Regions from separate parts of the Homo sapiens genome. Here regions 1 and 2 are each linked to region 3. The links are contacts of gene promoters, found by promoter capture Hi-C in blood cells and fetal thymus (Javierre and others, 2016). All regions are on one chromosome and are shown on one strand. Each heading gives the region's core, a stretch centred on a gene start or on the middle of the fragment in contact. The rest is flanking DNA. Distances are from core to core; before and after follow the strand shown. Region 1 has its middle 16 kb from the start of TIPARP. Region 2 has its middle 32 kb from the start of TIPARP. Region 3 holds the start of SSR3 (signal sequence receptor subunit 3).

Region 1 (4,469 bases), core at 1,217-3,716, 100 kb after region 3:
ACCACAGTATGTTTTGATCTGATGGGTCACAGGCAGCCGTGCACCCTCTTAGGGACCACTGGACGTTGAAATGGGATGTGGTATGTTTCTATGTTCTTGCTCTGAATGGCACCTCACTTCTGCTTGGTTTCTGTAGGCTTTGCTAAATAAATTAGAAATTTAATATTTCCTGGGATCAGTTAGTGTGGTCTGTTGGGCCATCTGTGGCCCAAGACTTTCCTTCAATATTAGGGAGAGGAGAGAAGTTATGAAAGTCAAAGGAGGTGGGCGGACTTTTGAAAGTGGAACCCATTATGTATGACTGCTGAGTTTTCTCAACACTTTTGTGAAAATTGGTTTAATAAAGATTCCTCATGAGAAGTGCTTTCTCATGAAAGTAGCATACAAGTATATTTATAGGCTTATTTTCCTTTTTTCAAAATAACTTTAGCATACACCTACTCAAATAAGCTACCAGTCTCATATGAACTGACTCATTTGTCAATAATAAATGCAGACGCCAGTGTGGGGGCTGACTACTCCATCAAGAACACGTAAAGTATATTGTGTTTTTAGCTTAAGCATGTTGGGAAGCAGTAGACTTTTCTTTTTCTTGTTGTTCTAATGGCATCTGCTGACTCAAACATGGTTTCTCTGTCCTGAGACAGACTAATTCATTGCAAAGGGGACAAAAACACAACATGGGCAGAATGTAGGAGAGATGATTTATGGCACACCAAGAAAGGAATATCTCAACTTTATTGTATTAGTTTCCCAGGGCTGCTGTAACGAAGTATCACAACCTGGGTGACTTAAAACAACACAAATGTACTGTCTCAGTGTTGTGGAAGACAGAAGTCAACAATAAGGTGTCAGCAGGGCCGTGATTCTTCTTAAACCTATGGAGGAATCCTTCTTTCTCCCTTCATAGCTTCTGGTGGTTTTGGCCTTCCTCGGTTTACAACTGCATAACTTTAATCTCTGCCTTCATTATCACATGGCATTCTCACTGTCTGTCTCTGTGTCTGCATGTGGCCATCTTCTTATAAGGATGCCAATTATATTGTGTTAGGGACCCATCTTAACTGATTACATATATTTCCAAATTATCATGACTCTATTTCCAAATAAGATCATATTCTGAGGTACTAAAGGTTAGGACTTCAATAGATCTTTTTCAGGGGAGATACAGTTCAATCCACAACACTCATATTCACAAAAAGAAAAAAAATGAAAAAGAATAGTTATGGATAATGGGTTGAGAGGCTAGTTGACCCTATTACTGTTCTCAAACTACTACTTCTTTACCCTCATGTAACAAAAAGAAAAAAATTGCTTCCTGGGTATTCCTCCTATTTGGCTAAATTGCCCTCTCTTCCTTTCTTCAGGTAGATATGGTTATGTACCTATTTATCACTTACTACTCACCACTAAATATTGGGTAGAGGTTCTCAAATTTTGTTGTGTATTTCATACTACCTGAGAACTTGTTGAAAACATACAGAAGCCCAGGCCGTATCCTACTTCAATAAGCCTGGGCCCCTCTATCTTCTAATGGCTCTCTAGGTGGATTCTAATGCGCTCTAAAGTTTAAGAACCACTGGCCTTGGGCTTGCAGTCTTTCAACCCCAACCTTTGCCAGCATCATGGAAGAATTCATTATCTACAAAGATGACTCAGCCATCACCAAGTCTTCTCATACCTTGCCTTCTTCACCCTCAATGACCTTCTAGTCCACTCCATCAGAGCCAGCTACTTCCACAGCCACACTCTGGACCTTGTTATCATTATTTTACTAAACTGATGTGATCAGTATTATAGTGAATGAACTGAATTTTATACAGCAGAATGATAATACAAGTTTTTTTTTTTTCTCTAAATCACTCTATTAGTCCGTTCTTGCACTGCTATAAAGAAATACCAGGGACTGGGTAATTTATGAAGCAAAGAGGTTTGATTGGCTTATGGTTCTGCAGGCTGTACAGGCAGCATAGCAGCTTCTGCTTCTGGAGAGGCCTCAGGAAGCTTTCAATCATGGAGGAAGGCAAAGGGAGAGCAGACATCTCACATGGTAGGAACAGGAGCAAGAGTGGGGAGGTGCTATGCACTTTCAAACAACCAGATCTGGCAAGAACTCACTCACTATCTTAAGGATAGCATCAAGAGCAGTGGTGCTAAACCATTCATGAGAAACCACCACCATGATCCAATCACCTCCACCAGGCCCCACCACCAACATTGGGGATTGCAATTGAACATGAAATTGGGGCGGGGACACAGATCTAAACCACATCAATCACCCTTTTCCAACTCCTCTATAGGCTAGTTGCTTTTTTGTTTGTTTTCCTTGTCCCTAGTGCAGACTTACTTTCCTGGCTTCTTTCAGGTCATAAAAATTCTCCTGGTAACTCAGCCACAAGAATGGTCTCAGTTCAGTAATTAAAATGTTCAATAAAATTTGAATGACACTCATAAAATTTGAGCCTCCCCACCCCCATCTTGTTGCTGCAGCAGACTGGAAAACCTAGGGGGTGGGGAGAAGGGATGGAAATACAGACGGCTGCTTCTTCCGTCTCCTTGCTCTCTGTCCACCCACACCCACCTTCTTAAACCCCCAATTAACTACCTCTGTGCTTTCAGGGTTGGATCAGGAAAAGGGAGGAGAGGTCATCAAGGTCCCACTTGGTAGGCACAGACACAGTCACCTATGGCAGCCTCTCGGTATGGCAGAATCCTGTTGCTCACTCTTTACTTCACTGGGTATTTTTGTGAATTTCAGGGAGATACTCCCCTTGGAACATCCAACTATGCTCCCATTGTGAAGGCAATGTCTCTCCTCAGGCTGGCCCTCTACAATTCTCTCCTCAGCCCCTGGCTATCTGGTGGCCACTCCCTTCCCTGTGGTCACATACCCCCTCCAGCCAGTTTTGGAATATGAGGTTGCCCCAGGCAAGCTTCTCCACAGGCCCACATCTGGCTCAGGAGAAACAGTCACCCACCCTTGCCTCACTGCTTGTGGATGTGCAGTTTGCTCCCAGTGCCCCTGCCCACTTCTCCCCTTTCCTCCCCACCTTCTCTAACCTGGATGATTTGCACAGAGCTACTCGTACCAGTCCTTAATGCTCTTCAAACTCCAGAGGCACATTTAAACCTCGTCAGGTGGTTTCGATAAAGTATCCTTTTTATTTGAGCTAAGGAGACAGGAATGCCACTATCTTTGCCTGGGAGAGAAGGAAAGAAACACCCAAGGCACTCCAACAATTCTCCAAAGAAAACAGGTCCCCCCTATTTTCCCCCTCATCACTAGCCCTCTTCTACTACTAATTCCCTCCCAGGTTAGATTTCATGGTACATACTTTCAGTAACCTCCTTGCCAATACCATAAATTCTCTTGTCTATCTTTTCCTCACATCCATCTGGAAAAACCTCAATCCTGGATGAACTCAACAGCCCACACTCTCCATGCCTGCACCAAGGCAGCTGAGCCACTGGCAGCTGAAGTAAGAAACACAAAAGGGCAGGCTGAAAGAACTATAATTTTAAGGTCAGTCACTCTGGGCCCTCCACACTGCCAACAATGCTGTTATAGTTATTTGGCCAGCTGGCTCTCTTAGTCTCTGCAAGAGCCATCTCAAGTCTTCCACACTCTCTTCAACCTCTAATCCCCTATTGTGCTGTTCATGCTCAGAAAATGCCTCACCTTTTATTTCTTGGAGACTACAAAATTAAATAACTTCTTCCCCCTAGCAAAGTTACTATCCAACCTATACCTTCACCCATCCTATTCTCTTTCCCTCCTGTTAAAATAGAGAGGGTCTTAGTGCAAGACCAACTCCTCTGTTTCTTATTTGGATCCCATCCCCTCCCACCTTCTTAAGAAGCATACGCCACTATCTCTTCTCCTAGCTTCAACCTCTGTCTTCTGGATTCTTATTAGTATCTAAAGACAGTAAAGTCTCCCCATCTTAACACATCTGTACACTTAGAATTACTTCATATATGAAAGTTATTTAACCATCCATATTACCCTATGAAGTAGATATTCTTTTAGCCCTAATTTTTAAGAGAAACAAGTTCAGAGATATTCCATAACTTGTCTAAGATCACATGGCTGGTAATTAAAATGAGATTCAAACCCAGGCGGTTTGATTCCATAGCCTTTTCTAGTCTCTGGATTCCCTGTTTGTTTTTATTATCTATTCTTTTTTTTTTTTTTTTTTGAGACGGAGTCTCGCTCTGTCGCCCAGGCTGGAGTGCAGTGGCGCGATCTTGGCTCACTGCAAGCTCCGCCTCCCGGGTTCACGCCATTCTCCTGCCTCAGCCTCCTGAGTAGCTGGGACTACAGGCGCCCGCCACCACGCCCGGCTAATTTTTTTTTTTTTTTTTTTTTTTTTGCATTTTTAGTAGAGATGGGGTTTCACCATGTTAGCCAGGATGGTCTCAATTTCGTGACCTCGTGATCCACCCGCCTCGGCCTCCCAAAGTGCTGG
Region 2 (4,432 bases), core at 744-3,243, 87 kb after region 3:
CATTCAATAAATGTTTTGGGGAATGAATAAATGAATTTGGCAAATTGATCTTGTCATCTCTTTGTATTTTTTGTTGTATTTCATATACATTTTATTAGCCTTTCCTGTGAATATTTTAACACCTTTTACCAAATTATAAAATCATGAATTTACATATTTTTGTTCCATAACCCAAATAGTACTTCCTACTGCACACAGAAGGTTCCTTTAAAATGAGAACAGTTTCAATAGTTCTATTCTTCCCTAGACTTCAACTCATGCACTATTTCTTTCTTTTTTTGTTTGTTTGTTTGTTTGTTTGAGATGGAGTCTCACTCTGTTGCCCAGGCTGGAGTAGAGTGGCATGATCTCGGGTCACTGCAACCTCCGCCTCCTGAGTTTAAGCGATTCTCCTGCCTCAGCCTCCCCAGTAGCTGGGACTACAGGCAACTGCCATCACACCCAGCTAATTTTTGTATTTTTGTACAGGTGAGGGTTTCACCATGTTAGCCAGGCTGGTCTCCAACTCCTGACCTCAGGTGATCCGCCCACCTTGGCCTCCCAAAGTGCTGGGATTACAGATGTGAGCCACCATACCTGGCCCCTCATGCACTATTTCTAAGGTCCAGTGGCTTGTCTTCTATTTTGCACTCAGCCATGGGTAGCCCCAGGTCTACTCAGTACTGGGAACAGGCAAGGGGATTTCCCATTTGGGTGGAATGGGCAGATCTGTTCACCAAGACAAAGTTGCAGTCAGAGACAATCCAGGCAAACAAAAAATTGTAGAAATGCAGCCTTGTTAATTTACATTTGCAAATTATGGCTTACAAATTCTCACACTCCTGCTTGTCTTCATGATGGCCTTGTGGAAAATAAAAAAACTAAACTTCCTAGATTGAATTATTGCCATGATGGATGTTAAAGGCCTCCCTCAGAAGGATTTTAGCCATTCTGGCTAATGACCATCCTCCACTTGCTTGATCCAGGGACAGCAGTGCCCACCTCACCCACCTGCCTTGAGGATATCTCTCTGAGGCATTAGAGAACAGGGAAGTGCATGGAATTAGCTCAGTACTGATTCTATTACATTACATTTCTATTATATTTAGACTCTTACTCATGGGTCCTGACAACCAATTGCTTTGTAATATATATTCTGTCTTCAGTATTACATTATAAGCTTCCTGGGGTTTTAATTAATTTATTTTTAACTTATCTCTTGTTGTAGTCATCCTTTTCTACTCCCCTCAACCCCTACCTCCTGGGGTTTTGTGTAATATCTTGCACATCGTAGATACTCTCTGTTGGATAAATGAAAGAATGTCTAGATGGTACTAAAAATAAAACAACTGTGAAGGGCTTTCTCAACCTGGGTAGGCCAGTATTCCCTCTGAACTATCTTTAGGATTAACTTGCTTGATTTTGCTTAGGCAGAACTCACCTTCTACTTCCAAAGTGTGATGGAACCAGGAGCAGTTGCTCATATCTGTAATCCAAGCACTTTGAGAGGCCAAGGTGAGAGGCTCACCTGAGGTCAGGAGTTCAAGAAGAGCCTGGCCAACATGGCAAAACCCCATCTCTACTAAACATATAAAAAAATTAGCCCAGCATGGTGGAGTGTGCCTGTAGTCATCCCAGCTACTCGGGAGGCTGAGGCAGGAGAATCACTTGAACCCAAGAGGCGGAGGTTGCAGTGAGCTGAGATGGTGCCACTGCACTCCAGCCTGGGAGACAAAGCGAGACTACATCTTAAAAAATAAATAAATAAATACATAAATAAATAACAAAGTGTGATGGGATGCTGGTCCGTGGGGGGTTGTAAGAATTTTGTGGCAAGGTAAGTGCAGAAACAGAAAGTAAGCATTTAATAACTTATATAGCAACATGACATTGTCCTTAAACCCAAGCACATGATAATGTTTATAATAATTCATTTTTATTATATTTTACAGCAGCAATTGGTCATGATAAATTAAAAACAATTAAAAAAAAAACCCTAGTTGTTCCCTATGGGTAGCAAGAAACACTGTTTTAATGAGTTTGCTTTCAGTACTTTATCAAGGTGCTCTATAATATGTGAACGCTGGGTTTCCCAAATTTTTGAACATGCTTTTGCCACGTTGCACAACATCATAACTATTTCTTTCTTTAAATAGAACTTTTATGTCTGACTTCAGTTTATTTTTTAAAATACATGATCACAACATAAAGGGAAGACCAATATCAATGGCCATGAACAGAAGTTAATTACAAAAATAAATGCAACAAAAACAAAGCAAACAAATTAAATTCTAGCCAGAAACCTGCCAAAAAGCTCTGAACATATGGCCTGTTAAAACAGTAATAATAGTAACAAGCAAGTGTTGGAAAGGTGTTCAAATCCATCAGCTCCAAACTGAAACAACCTCCTTGTTGTAATCAGAAGGAAAGAGAATTAGAGGGTCTCACTGTGTAATTCAAGGGCACTTCCTGCCCTGTCATTGTACATCCCAGAGCACTAGCCGCAGTGACCCAGTTTATGAAAGCACTGACAGTGTTTCAAAGCCTGGCATAGGATGCGTGAGACATGTTTGTTTTAGTAAATAGGTGGCATTCCCAGAGGCTACAAGACATTATTCTTTAAAGAGTCTGTGTTTCAGATGTTTGTTTATCAGGGTTTTTTTTTGTTTTTTGCAACATAGAGCACACTTTCTCCAGAAACAATGATATAAATAGGACCACAGAAGCAAGAATGCAGATGGATTACTTCACATTTGCAATGAAAAAGAGTAGCAAAGAAGGCTGTTGCAAATGTGTGGTGAGGCATTTCAAACTCACAGGCTTCCTCTGCCCTAGTGGCTGCTGGTTCTAAGCTTCTGGCAGGCAGTCCTTTCGGGAGAATGGACAGAGGGCCAGGGACAGTCTTTGGCAGACCACAGGGCTTCTGAAGTCCCTAGGAGGGAAAGTGTCAGCCCTCCAACCACTCCCTGGACTTAGCAGTTGTCACAGGAATGGCTCTTATTTGAAGCTGGGAGGCTTAGTGGTTATGGCCAGAGCAAGGAAGGTGAGCGCATACCGTGAGGAGCATCCCTCCTGCCAACCTAGAGCTTCAGGGAGTCATGGTACAATCCTACTGTCCTTCCTGACGAGAGCTAGCACAGCGAGGCTGAGTGTGGGGAGGGAGCACATCTGGAAATATCTCCAATTTATTCAGGGCAGGGGTCCCTCTCACCTCCCTGCACCTTCTTCTCAGTACTGCCTCTGCCTGGAAGCCGGCTGGAGGCATCTCCTTTACCTAGTATTTCACTCTTTCTCCAGAAGCTCAGCAAGTAGAGCTGACAGTACCCCAGGGGACTCCTACAATTTCCTCAGTCTCCAGGGAGATGCCTCCTGAATGAAACGATCTAAGAAAAGAAACATACACAAATACACACTCCTTCCTGTTCTCTCTCAAGCACCAGAATATTTTCTGCACTGGGCTCCCACACTCAACAGCCTCATTATTCTCTCTGAGATTTTCCTCTCCTTCCTCATTCCCCTGCCTCTGCTACCACTCCCACCTTCCACGCAAACACATGCGTGCCTGCACTTACACACACACTCATGCGGTTTCCGCACAGCTATCTCTGAGGGTAGGGGCAGCCACTAAACAGAGAGGAGGAACTAGATCATCTATCTTGAAAATTTGCCTCAAGCTCAGTAGGTGAACACTAAGAAAGCTGTTCTCGGAGGTACTGGAGGGCACATAACTCTTTTCCCATTCCCCTGTTGAGTGTGGGAGCCCAGAGCAGAAAATAGTTTCCTCCCCTCAACCCATCCCCCTCCATCAGTGAGCCTATAACTCATTTCAAGCCTGCTGTTGAAACCTAACTTTCCTCAGCCAGAACAGCCACAAGAAGTTATGGTTTATTTTCCCCCTCCTCCCTTGCTCTGCTCTGCCATCCCCCCAGTATAGAAGACTATGTCTGGCTTTTCTATTTTTGCTGTTGATGAGATAGATACAGTGCTAAGGGTAAGACAGTGTGTTCAAAATAGTGAGGATACATAGGATGAATTTGTTTTAAACAATATTTTAGTTATATTTCCAAATAATATGCTGAATATTTTTTTCTTCAACCTCCAGACCGCCTTTCAGGTGAAGCATCTCTAAAAATAATGCAATGGGTCCAATTGTTGATCTGAAAAAAGTACAATAAAAACACTACAAGAGCATCCAGAAGTCTGGAAACACAGGTGAAATTGTGCACTTCTTGTTTCAGATTTACAGCTAAATCCACTGCCTTAAATGTAGAGATTCATCACCTGAAACATGGTTGAAAACAAAAATATATTGAGTATTTTTTAAATGTGAATACCATAATTTTAAAATGCCATTTTCTCCTATGCTTTGTCCTGTAATTTAAAAAATTTAACAAGTGGACACTATGATTGGTGTACATTCCTGCCTACAATCTTCCAAGTTAATTGGATTAAT
Region 3 (4,341 bases), core at 1,428-3,927:
TACATAGGGCAATGTGCTTCATACAGTGCATGGCAGGGCGGGCCCTAAACTTGTTTTAAAAGACCAGATGGAGGTTGTTACAGCAATACAAGTAAAAACAGCATCCAAACTAGAGTGAGAACTATGGATGAAAAGATAATGCACATACAAAGTATGTTCGTACTAAGTCTCAGTGAAATTCCAATTGCCTTTTAAGAAATTACTTTCAAAGCAATACAGCACCTAGATGACCCCATCAAGGAAGGAGGGAAATAATCCTGCTATCCCTACCCAAGTATCACAGTGTACATGAAAGCAACATCAAAGGGCGTCAATTAAACAATTTATACCACTTCCAATGAGACAATGAGGACCATGACGCTGAGAAATAATAAATGTTACCATCTTTCCTAAGTCTACGTGATCCTGCATTTTAACCTCTATGAAACTAGAATATTTAATTGCTTATAATTAAGGTATAAGTTTATTGTGGTGAGGCTTGAGTTTTCTTCTCTAAAAGCTGTATTTTACAGTATGTGTGATCTTAGACTATGTTAATCCTTTACATTTTATACACTTGTATGAAAACAAACGTAATTAGCATTGAAAATGACAGAGAGTTAAAAAAAAAAAAAAGCAATAAAATAAAAAGACCAGCCTGGTCAACATGGCCTGTCTCTACAAAAAAATTAGCTGGGCATGGTAGCCTGCACCTGTAGGCCCAGCTACTTGGGAGGCTGAGGTGGGAGGATCCCTTGAGCCTGGGAAGGTTGAGGCTGCAGTGAACCATAATCATGCCACTGCACTGCAGACTGGGCAAGAACTAGACCTTGTCTCAAAAAATAATAATGACAAAAAGATCATTTCTTTAACTTCCAAAAATAGTACGTGAAGAGCCCAGAACAATTCTCTCCATAAGGAATTACATTTAGCTTCTGAAATGTTAACTTACTTGGTGGGTTTGTTTCTCTGATGAACCTCATATTAAGGCCTGTGTTTAAGTGTTCTAATTCCACCCTCAAAATCTGCTTCTGTAGCCGTGTCAGAATGATCATTGTCTCTACTTCAGTTAGTTAATAATTCTTCCTAGCATCAATGTTCCTTTCCCCCAAAATGTTTATTAATATATATATCTCAAATTAATGCTTATTAAAACCAACACACACAAATGATCTTTAAGAAGACATATAAAAATATAACATGTAGTACGTACTTTCACTTGAAAAACATACTTACTTGTGCTTGAGAACAAATTTCACATTCTTGTATGCAAAGGCTACCAAATATGTGCTTACTAGGGTCATCACACTATACAAAACAGCAGACTGAATAAGATCCATATGCCATATTCGCCAGTATAACCCTGAATTAAAATAAAAGGGGGAAGGGTACAAAAAGAAGCAAAACATTACAACCCCGCAACAAAAGCCTGCGAAATTAATTATAGCTAAGCCTGGTAAAATACCAGGTTATTAGTTATGCAATCCAATAGTATCTGAGGATCTTCAGAAGCGAGATAACCAGTAACAGTATAGTCTCAAGCTTTCCAGTTCAGAACATTTGAAAAACATCACCTTCCTATTACTAGTCCAGATGAGATTTCAACTTCTAAAATGAGAACAAACTCTGGCTCAACGTAATCACAAGTCAGACTTCAAATTTCATTCATCAGGGTACTAGCATGCGAAACACAGGCCATTCCAAAATGCCACGTGCAGCCCCAAACCATAGTTTCCTTGCTGACGTGGCTGTTATCAGAACTCCAAGCAGTGCTATGTCCAATTAGTGAGCCATCATATGGCTTCACATCACGTTAATGGCACGCTGGGTTGTATAAGGACAAAAGAGAAAAATACATTTAGTTTTAAATGCCCAACAACAGTGCAGCAAAAGACAGGAGTTCTGGAAACTTGAGCTCTACTAAAAACGACCTTGTCCAAGTCTGCAGTTTCCCAACCAAGTGAGAATTCTAGAATTGGTCCAGTAGGATTATTAAAAAGTATAAATAAGGTAGATCCCTAACCCCTGGCACTTCAACCTCTCTCTTTTTGCAAAAACCAGGAAAATTATGCAATGGTGTGAAGTAGCTCACGTAAAGATGCACTTATAATTCAGTGGGTCACTTCATGGGTTTCTCACCTAACTAATTTATGCAAAATAAGTAATAAGTTTAAAATTTCGTAACGGCAAGCAACAGTTGTATAGAAAAGGGCAGAGGCAGTATGCTTGAGTTTGTCTGTTTAAATAGAGATTCGGGGCCGCCACCCCAGAACTAGTTAACCACCTTCTCCTGGGGTGGAGCTCGGGAACGTGCGTACTTTTAACAAGTGACCTCCCCGAGTGCTGCACAGGACAATCCCAAGCGACAACACTGTGCCCAAAGAAGAGGCTCCGTGCCTCCCCGAGCTCAGGGGAGCTGGAGAGATTGCCGACCCCCGGCCGGCACCCACGCCTTCCCTGCTCGCCGGGTCCTGCCACGTCCCCGCCCAGCCCGACTAGCCGGCGGCCTGCCTAACCCGCCTCGCTCCCAGCACTCACAGATGGGGATGGCAGACACGATGAACGCGTTTCCGAAGAAGAGCGCGGAGGACTTGGCCGAGAGATTGCGGCTGAAATCCTGCAGGAGCAGGTCCTCCTCAGACTGCTGTTTGGAGCTGCCTTTAGGAGCCATGGCGGAGCTGCAGGCGAGAACAGGGAACGTAGAGCCGGCCGCCAAGGCGGGCAAAGGCCCTTGACTCCGCCCCTGCGGCCGCCGTATCCGCTAACGACCCGTCAGCGCGGCGCGCGGAGGCGGGACCCGGTTTGGCGAAGAGCAAGCGTCCCCAGGATTGGCCAGCTTGGCGCCACTAGATAGGCTTCCGGGCGTGATTGGGCGAGCGGGCCAGACTTCCGGATTCCTGACAAGCCACGTGACCCACCCACCTGGAGGAGAGAGAAGGGATTTGTAGTTTAGTCGGTGCTTTAAAAAAAATTAACAAAACTTTATTGATATTCCACTTCAGAGCTGCTGACAGACTCACGAGTTCTCAGTTCTTCAGAATTCCAAAATTAAAAGCTCTTCTGGCCCCACGCCATTAGTGCCCTCTGTGCGTACCCAGGACTGAGTACGTTGAAGAAGAAAGAAGAGAAAGGTATAGCTAACTCATGTAAAATCCCTTCTCCTTTACACATCCTTTATTTCATTAAATACCTTGAAGAATCTTATGACGTGCGCATCATTACCGCCATTGCAGCTGAAGAGCCTGAGGGTCGTAGACCTGCGGTGTGGGTCTCCAAGGCGTGGGCTCTTTTCACTAAACAATAGGCCACCTCTGTAGGAAGAAGAAAATGGGACTCTTGCTTTTAAGAAACTCATGATCTCATTGATGAAGGCAATATTTAATATATGTCTGATACAAGTTACTACTATTTTATTTTATTTCAACTAGACCTATAGAGTTTTGTGGCTTCCAAAGCCATGCTAAATAAAACATAATACTAAGAACAGGTTGGCTAGGCAAGACTCCCTCTCTGAAGCTCAGAAGGATTAAGTATGTCTATTAAAACAGCTAGATTCCATTTTTAACTCAACACATTATCATTTTTTCTTCAAAAAAAAATTCAACCACATCACTCCCAGCAAATGCTACTTTTGATTACTGAGAACACTCTAGTGCATTAGGCACAATTTCCTCAACCTCCAGCCTCCTTATTAACCGTTTGGTAGATATCTTTCTTCCTCACAGTATCCAAATTGTAATCTACCTCCACAGCTTCCTATTACTAGTCCTAATTGGGCTTTTGTCTTCAATCTTTTCCAGTCTATTCTCTATACAGGTACCAGAGTGAGTTTTCCTGAAATATAAATCCTTCCATTATCTACCGCAAGTGTTCCTTAATGCCAGAAGTTTTCATTAATTCACCACAAAATGAAAAAGAAAAAAAGACCATCTAGTGAATTTTTCAGAAAATCAAAAGTATTCATTTAAAAATATCTGGGTTTATGTCTTTTTTGATGTTAAAAATGCTCTTTATTTTATTACATGGTAGTGATAGAAGAAGAAATTATTATTTTCTCTTACACATACTCCTCCCCCAGTTTTTCCTATCTCACTAAGTTGCATTCTTTTAAACTCATTTGTTGTTCTGGTTAAAATAGTGGGTTTCAACACTAATTATTTTTTTCCTTCTCCATCTATGACCAATTCATAAATAAAACTTTTTGGATCTGTCTCTATAACTAGATTTTCTTCTGCCTATTTATAAACAAACTAAGGATATAAAAAGAAGATAAAAGATAAAAATCAGAGGCTGGGTGCGGTGGCTTATGCCTGTAATCCCAGCACTTTGGGAGACCAAGGTGGGTGGATCACAAGGTCAAGA

Evidence for each region. The method cuts DNA at HindIII sites, captures the fragments that hold promoters and counts their contacts. A CHiCAGO score of 5 or more calls a contact.
Region 1: a contact is called between a fragment that was not itself captured here and the fragment with the promoter of SSR3 in region 3, in 5 of 17 cell types (M2 macrophages, total B cells, megakaryocytes and 2 more). The highest score is 5.9, in M2 macrophages.
Region 2: a fragment that was not itself captured here is called in contact with the fragment with the promoter of SSR3 in region 3 in 3 of 17 cell types (megakaryocytes, M2 macrophages and monocytes); the score reaches 11.3 in megakaryocytes.

Annotation. Positions count from the first base shown.
Region 1 is chr3:156,655,980-156,660,448 of GRCh38, forward strand. No RefSeq gene overlaps it. Among named protein-coding and RNA genes, the nearest start is that of TIPARP, 16 kb to the right of the region's middle. The HindIII fragment of the contact is 929 bases long and covers 2,003-2,931 here.
Region 2 is chr3:156,640,437-156,644,868 of GRCh38, forward strand. No RefSeq gene overlaps it. Among named protein-coding and RNA genes, the nearest start is that of TIPARP, 32 kb to the right of the region's middle. The HindIII fragment of the contact is 1,672 bases long and covers 1,158-2,829 here.
Region 3 is chr3:156,552,440-156,556,780 of GRCh38, forward strand. It overlaps SSR3 (signal sequence receptor subunit 3), which reads right to left and starts at 2,678. Exons shown (of 5, transcript NM_007107.5): 1 at 2,518-2,678; 2 at 1,216-1,342. The coding sequence starts at 2,650. RefSeq lists an enhancer at 2,537-2,616. The HindIII fragment of the contact is 5,682 bases long and covers 1,520-4,341 here.